Regions from separate parts of the Homo sapiens genome. Here region 2 is linked to region 1. Evidence: promoter capture Hi-C in human tissues and cell types (Jung and others, 2019). All regions are on one chromosome and are shown on one strand. The core of a region is centred on a gene start or on the middle of the fragment in contact, and the rest is flanking DNA. Distances in the headings are between cores, read along the strand shown. Region 1 holds the start of CMPK2 (cytidine/uridine monophosphate kinase 2). Region 2 has its middle 33 kb from the start of LINC01247.

The links. The method cuts DNA at HindIII sites, captures the fragments that hold promoters and counts their contacts. A contact is called where the count stands out against the background at its distance.
Region 2: a fragment that was not itself captured here is called in contact with the fragment with the promoter of CMPK2 in region 1 in 1 of the 25 tissues and cell types used here (lymphoblastoid cells).

The regions. Positions count from the first base shown.
Region 1 is chr2:6,864,208-6,868,156 of GRCh38, reverse strand. CMPK2 (cytidine/uridine monophosphate kinase 2) reads left to right here and starts at 2,250. Exons shown (of 5, transcript NM_207315.4): 1 at 2,250-3,135. The coding sequence starts at 2,461. It also overlaps a transcript of RSAD2 not described here. RefSeq lists silencers at 1,990-2,259, 2,500-2,939 and an enhancer at 2,260-2,479. The HindIII fragment of the contact is 2,409 bases long and covers 346-2,754 here.
Region 2 is chr2:6,340,457-6,344,235 of GRCh38, reverse strand. No RefSeq gene overlaps it. Among named protein-coding and RNA genes, the nearest start is that of LINC01247, 33 kb to the left of the region's middle. The HindIII fragment of the contact is 7,670 bases long and covers 1-3,779 here.

The DNA of each region.
Region 1 (3,949 bases), core at 1,001-3,500:
AATACTGTAAGTGTTGAAGATTATGGCTTTTCCTATGATATAGCTGTGCTGTTCATTCATTTAAAGACACCTCTTTGAAGTATCTTCCCAGCCTGCAGCTTCTCTCCTTTCCACCTGCAACGATGGGTGGCTACAGGCATGTTTAGTCAATATAAACATCCAGCTGTGGCTCTCAGAGTCTCTGTCCTACAAATTTGAAGGGGCTTGAAAATCTAACAGAAATTTTTATTTATGAATGAAGATATATCTTCAACATCTTCAACACTTATATAATATTGACTAAGCCCAAATACTGCAGTGTTATTAACTTTACATCTCTTCGTAGGGCGAAGGTAGGTGAAAAATAGAGAGGAAAACTTAAATTAAAAAAGGTAAGATGCTTCATTTAGCAAACTGTGTGTCAGGTTTTCTTTCAGTTGGAGGCTCAGAGAAAAGTTAGGAAGAAGCTGGTCTTCCTACTTACCCTCAAGGTGCTCAGTGGTGGGAAATAGACTGGCACGTGACTGTGGAGTGTCAAGGTCCGAGGATACAAATAGCCTTGGTGGGGGACACAGGAGAGGCTACTAACCCAGATATGTGGGGGGTTATAGGCTATATCATGTCCCCCAAAATTCATGCTCAGGCCTAGCCCCCAGTGCCTCACAGTATGACTGTATTTCAAAATAAGGCTTTCAATAGGTGATTACATTAAAATGAGAACATTATGATGGGCCCTAACCCAATCTGACTGGTGTCCTTCCCAGAAGAGGAAATTTGGAACTTCAAGGAGACGCCAAGGATGCAAGCACAAAGGAAAGGTCCCGTGAGAACACAGAGAGAAGGAGGCGGTCTGCACGCTAGAAAGAGAGGCCTCAGAAAAAGCAAACCCTGCTGGCAACTTGATCTCCAGCTTCTCTGGCCACCTGAACTTTGAGAAAACAAATTTTCTATTGTTTAGGCGGCCCAGTCCGTGGTATTTTGTTATGGCAGCCAGGATAGACTAATACATCCAGAGAGGTGGATGGCATAGGGAAAAGGTCAAGCAGGCTTGAGGATGCAGTACTGTCTTAGAGAAGAAAAGGGAGTAACTAGAAGACTCTTACTTCCATATACTACATACACGTGAAACCACCGGTACATGCTAAATGTCCAAAAGTGAAATTCCTGAGAAAGAATAAAAACTATTCTATTCTCAAAGAGCTAAAAAATTTTAAACTCCTAATTCTTCTTTCTTCTTAGCCTATTAACCCACACTCCAACCACCTATCTATATTTCACGTTTGTTAAGACTTTTTTTTTCAGAATTAAATATAATCCCAAGTTTAAGTCCAATACTATTAAGACATAAAAAAAAAACTGCTTTCAGCTCATCTAATGTTTTCAATCTTCGTCTCAATTCTATTTTTTTGAGAGAGTTTCCCTGGAGAATATTATCTTTTTGTTTGTTTTTGGTTTGCTTGACATCATTTTTAAAAGGCATCAGTTAATGAGTAAACACAGAATAAAATATCCAAATAACTGCGCAAACACTGTTACACTGTTAGGCAGTTACACTGTTAGGCAGCAACAGTGCTGATGCTGGACTGTGGCAGGCAGAGGGTGCTATCCTGACACACTTCACCTTAGTGCAGGAAACTTCAATTTGGTGGAAGAAAGGCGATTTCGAGGTGCCAATCTGGGCGACACTTCCCAGTTGGAGAGTCAGCAAAAGGGAGAGGGCAATTCCAAGAAGAGGGAAAAGCTTGTGCACAGGTGAGTGTGTGCAAAGGTGAGTGTGTGCACAGGTGAGTGAGTGCACAGGTGAGATAAGATACAGGAGAGGGAAGAGCCAGAACTGCGCCCTGTTCCCGCAGGAAAGCAGCTCTGCAGGATTAGAGGGGCGGGGACGCGTGGTCAGAGCTAGGAGTTGAGGTCGGGGAGGGAGCCCATGGTCTGCAGGGCCTGGTCAGTCATCCAAGGGCAGTAGTGCGCCTGCAAGTGGGCGTTGAAGAGCCCGTTACACCGGGAAGGGACTTCTCTGTCCCTCGCGCGTGCACCCCCGCCCCCCTCCATGCACCCGGCATAAGCCGCAGAGGAGGAACTCAAACCAGGGTCGGGGCCGCCAGCCACCCGCAGAACGCACACGGAGCTACCTTGGGGCCGACGGCGCGGGGCCTCATTCGGTGTCAGCCCCGGGAGCCGGCGCCTGGGGACCGCGCAGGCCCGCGGAGCCGCGCACCTGGGGCCCCGGGGCCAAGCGTCTGCTCCCGAGCGCCGGCCGTTTATCGCGCACATCTCGCGGCGAGGAGGAGAGGCCGGAAGGGCGCCCCAGCCCCAGGGCTCCTGCCCCGCCTGGGCCTCCGGCTTTCGTTTCCCCGCAACGCTTCGCTTTCGTTTCCCGCTGGCGCCTGGCTCCCTCCGGGTTTCGTTTCCCGCCGGCGCCTGGCTCCCGCCAGGTTTCGTTTCCGAGGCGGGGCCGAGGGCGGCGTCGCTGAGGCGCCCATGGCCTTCGCCCGCCGGCTCCTGCGCGGGCCACTGTCGGGGCCGCTGCTCGGGCGGCGCGGGGTCTGCGCTGGGGCCATGGCTCCGCCGCGCCGCTTCGTCCTGGAGCTTCCCGACTGCACCCTGGCTCACTTCGCCCTAGGCGCCGACGCCCCCGGCGACGCAGACGCCCCCGACCCCCGCCTGGCGGCGCTGCTGGGGCCCCCGGAGCGCAGCTACTCGCTGTGCGTGCCCGTGACCCCGGACGCCGGCTGCGGGGCCCGGGTCCGGGCGGCGCGGCTGCACCAGCGCCTGCTGCACCAGCTGCGCCGCGGCCCCTTCCAGCGGTGCCAGCTGCTCAGGCTGCTCTGCTACTGCCCGGGCGGCCAGGCCGGCGGCGCACAGCAAGGCTTCCTGCTGCGCGACCCCCTGGATGACCCTGACACCCGGCAAGCGCTGCTCGAGCTGCTGGGCGCCTGTCAGGAGGCACCACGCCCGCACTTGGGCGAGTTCGAGGCCGACCCGCGCGGCCAGCTGTGGCAGCGCCTCTGGGAGGTGCAAGACGGCAGGCGGCTGCAGGTGGGCTGCGCACAGGTCGTGCCCGTCCCGGAGCCCCCGCTGCACCCGGTGGTGCCAGACTTGCCCAGTTCCGTGGTCTTCCCGGACCGGGAAGCCGCCCGGGCCGTTTTGGAGGAGGTAAGAGTTCTGTCCGCTTCCAGCTCCCAGCGTGGCATCTGAACCCTTCAGACCAGAGAACTGGACCAAGAGGCTGGTCTGTAGAGCCGGTTCTTGCCTGGGTGGTTTGTTTATTTCCGTTCACAAATCAGGTAGGGAAGGTGTCCTGTATGCCAGGCAACTCTTTTAAGATTCTTGTTTGCAAGGATCTTCCAACCTGACGTGGAACATAGACCTACACCAAGCCACGCGATGCTTGCTGTAAAAGCATCCCAACAGCAGTACAGAGGGAGTAAAGGGGCTGCCGGGAGTGAGGGAAAATAATGTCAGCTGGGAAGTAATTTTATTTGCTGATGATCACCATTCAAGGATCTTGGGGTGAAAAAGAAAATGCATGAGTTTAGGGGGTTTAAGAAATTTAGACTTAAATAGTGTTTACCTACCGACTGGCCATGAACCTTGTGCAGGTTACTCAACTACTCTAAGTTTTGCCCTTTGACATGTACAATTCCCATCTTGCGATGTTGTCCTGATTAAGGAAACATCTGACTCACAGCAGGTACCCACAGAAAGAGACTGAAAATTCTTTCTGATCGCAGGCTAGGCAGATGTCCTCCTGTGACACAGATGAGCCCTGAGGATGCCCCCATGGATCTTGGGAATATTTTCCAAGCTTACGGGACAGCGTTGTGGAGCAGTTAAGAGCGCAAGGTCAACCACGTGTATTTAAATTTAAACTCTGGCATTTATTAGCTGTGTCACTTTGAGCAAGTTTCTTCAACTCTCTGCCTCAGTTTCCTTAATTCATATGGTGGGAATAATAATAGCACCCCCC
Region 2 (3,779 bases), core at 133-2,632, 520 kb after region 1:
GCCGAGAGTCAAGCTCAAGCAGCAAGGTACAAAATACTAACATCAAGTCCAAAGGGTAAAAGACTGAGTTAGGATGGGCTAATGGAATAAGAAGTTTTGGGTAAGTGGAAACAAAGTTGAAATAACAATAGCCCCAAAGCAAATCAGAAGGTTCACGTTTATTACCCCAAACAGTGCTGGGCCAACTGTAGCTTGCCTTATCAGCTACTCCACGTTGGATGAAGATAGCTTTGATCTTCTGGCTTAAAGGATCAGAGGCAGTGTGAGTAGAAACTCAACCGTTTCCCAAAGGGTGGAAAAGCAAATGATATGGCTGGCAAAACACGACTCTCAATGCTTTGGCTTAGATGTGATACATGCCACATTCATTTACATGCCATTGGCCAAAGCAAGTCACACAAACAAGCTTGATGTCATCTGGGTGAGGATACATACTTCTCCAATGGGAGACACTACAAATCCCGTGCATGGTGCAACTGTATATAATTCTTTTACAAGAAAGCAGAGTGAATATGAAGAAGCAATAGTTCAATCTACTACATCTTTTGAAAATAACTTTCCCTTTAGAAAGACCGTCATTTCTCTTGCATGCTTGCTGTTTCCTTCCATTTGTTTTTCAAAACACTAATCTTGGTTAGATTCACATATAGTCTTCATGCCTTTATCTGTGAAGGTGAACACCAGTATAGAATGTTTAGAAAAAGACAAAAGAGTATAATATCATCTTCATACATTCATAATTAAGAATTTCAATTCTCACTCAAAAATTCTAAGAAATCCTACCGGTTTTCCTCTACTAAGCTCATTATCCCACTCTCTGCACTAACTATTTTAGACCTTTGTTTTTCTATTCAAGCTCATCACCCATAATTCCCCTCTGCACCACTCCCCTCACATGCTGCCCACAGATGGCATTGCCTCTCATTTCGTTAGAAAAACAAAAGCCATCAGGTGCCCCCTCACCTCCCCAGCACCGACTCTGTGCACCTGTCTGAGCCTGGACTCATCTTCTTCTTTTCTGTTCTCTTTCTGTAAGAGTTGCTAAATCGTGATGACTGAAGGATGTATAATTGGTACTAAGTTTCAGAAATAAGCCTCCTTAGAGGCTCTGGTAGTTAAAAGAGGATTCCGGTGATTCCCAAAGTTTGCAATAGTCCATTTCTCTAATCTGTCCATGTTTTAGGCGTCCAAAATCAGCAGTTTGCAAAATGCCAACTGTTGACTACGTCAGAATCATGGGATTTCTACCCATGATTCCTACCCCTGTATTTCCAGGATGGGACCTGGAAATACGTATTTTACTGTCTGTCCAAGTGATTCTAATGCATTGCTCAGTATAAAGGTACCTATTACAGAACCTAAGGTGCCTTTAAAGTTTTAGATCTGTGGTTCTATAACTTTGCCTCATAATAAAATTACCTGGGGAGCTTTTAGGGCGCCTGAGGCCCAAGTTACACTCTGGACCAATTAAATTTTAATCTCAGCGGTTAGGGCTAAGAAGTTGCCATTTTTAGACCTTCACAGGTGTTTATGATGTGCAGCAAGCCTAAGAACAACTTCTCACTTTCAGCGAAGTGTGCAAGGCTAAGGGTGCCTTCTGGCTGCACTCAGAGGGGCTTGGATGGGGAGTGCAATATCACAGCTCCACATTGAGGAAGCATCCCCAGGGATGGTTTTGCAACAGAAAATATTGTTCATGCCACTCAAACTGGGAAAAGACCACCTTGTACCAAATGGAAATAATTAATCTATGAAGAAAAATACTGCTGAGGCAGCATAAAATGCTGTAAAGTGTGCCAGACTCAAGGTCAAAAGAGCTGTGTCTGTTGTTTGTTACCTGGGACAATCTTGGGCAAGGAATTTGATTATTCTGAACTGGAGTTTTCTTACCAGTAAGGCGGATGCTACAGTACCAGCCTTGTTGTATGGTTGCTATTTTATTTCATTAAGAGAGCTGACAACTGACATATTCAAATGGTCAGAGTGCTTTTCATTGGAATTTGGGGAGCAATTTGGAATTCCTTATTTGAATCTGGAGTTAAATCTTTATTAATACATGTAGTTTTCTTATTTGTTTTTATATTATTAAACTCTTTTCTAACCTTTTAGAGAGCCAGTCTAGCTCTTTTGTCTTAGAATAATTTTACATCCCATTTTCTTAATTGGCCTAGAGATTCTGTAGTATTGGTGCTTGTTTTCTCTATTGCTGCTGAATACCAGGAAAGAGCCAAAGAGTACCTTTGTTGCCCAGATATCTGATAAAGTCCAGATGCATCTGGAAACCATTTGGAATTCACGGGCAAATGAAGTAGGTCATAAAATATGAAGAACTCAAGAGAAAAAATAAACTACCAAGGTTGAATTATAAGGTAAGGTCTTAGCTCTTATCTTTCTTAATAATGCCTCCTCTGCTTGCCATGGCAACCACATGTGCTGGCAGTTGTTATGGCAAAGGGAGAGGACTGCAAATAGAAGAGAACTGTAGGATTCTGCAATGGAAGAAGGTATTTCTGAGACTAGTAAAAACACAGACCAACATGTATTGTTATGATCTAAGCCTCATGTGTATGAATAAGGGGGTATCACAATGAACTAAGATTTCGTGAGGCACGTTCATCTTCATTTTTTTTTATTTGTTGCAAAATGAGGTCTCATTGGTGAGTCCTCATACTGATGCCTATAAAGCACTTGTCACGGTACTTAGTTCATAGAAGGTACTCTCTATCTGTTAGCTGAATATAAATAACCTGGATGAACAGTATGTGTGTATAAGGCTGTTGGCATATGGATTTTCTGTAGAAAAATTTTACTTAAAAAGTAAGCAAGAATCGAAAGTTTGATTAATAGACAATTGGAACAACTAAAATGAAACCCTTTTTCAAGGACACCTACCAAGTGAACTGATGCATTTTGAAGGGCATCTGATGAGTGGCCATGCCATGGCAGCACATTTTCTGTTTGCCTGTGCTGTATGGATTCATATATGATTACAAAACCCAGAGTGACCCATTAGTACAAAGTAGGCATAAATTTATGTATTTATTTTTTCAAATTAGCGAAGTGTTGAAATTTCAGGATCCAAAGAAACCAAGAGACCTGTTAAAGGGGTTATTTCTTTGACCGTTTATCTTTTGCTTGAAACAATGTAGAGGTGCATTGACCTTTTCTCACCTCCATGTCAGCTTTCACATTTGTGTGTTTCCAGTCTTCTTTGAGCTAGTGAAGTGAATTCTCACAAAACCTAAATATTCTAGATTCTCTGCTTCCTTAATCAGTGGGTAGAATAGTGGGCCTGGGATTTTCCCCAGCATGGCGTGGTTTTCGTGAAGGGGATGGAGGAAATTTTGAACTCATTTGCAATTTCTCTGAGGACAGAAATGATAGAGACCATAATAAGGACAAATTAGACTGTAGTGAAGCTCAATATGGTGACCTTATTTTGTGTGTGTTCAGTGGGTGGATTCTACTTTTTCTTTATAAATGTCATTAAATAGCAAGCTGATGTCACAATGGGCAGAGGTCTCTCACAGAAACTTACCAAGCATTGCACATTCTACTTGTTGCAATCTGTGAAAAAAACCTTGTAATAAATACACATCTAGAACCTGATGTGATTCTCTTTTGTACAGTAGGAAAAACATAATTTGTTATTTCATTGAAAGATAGAACATACCATGAATGTGTATGGTGAAGTCAGGAGGCTTTAGACGCAGCAGGAGAGTGTGATAGTGGTCTTCTCTACTGGTTTAGAGAAAACATCAGGTTCCACTTTAGCTTGG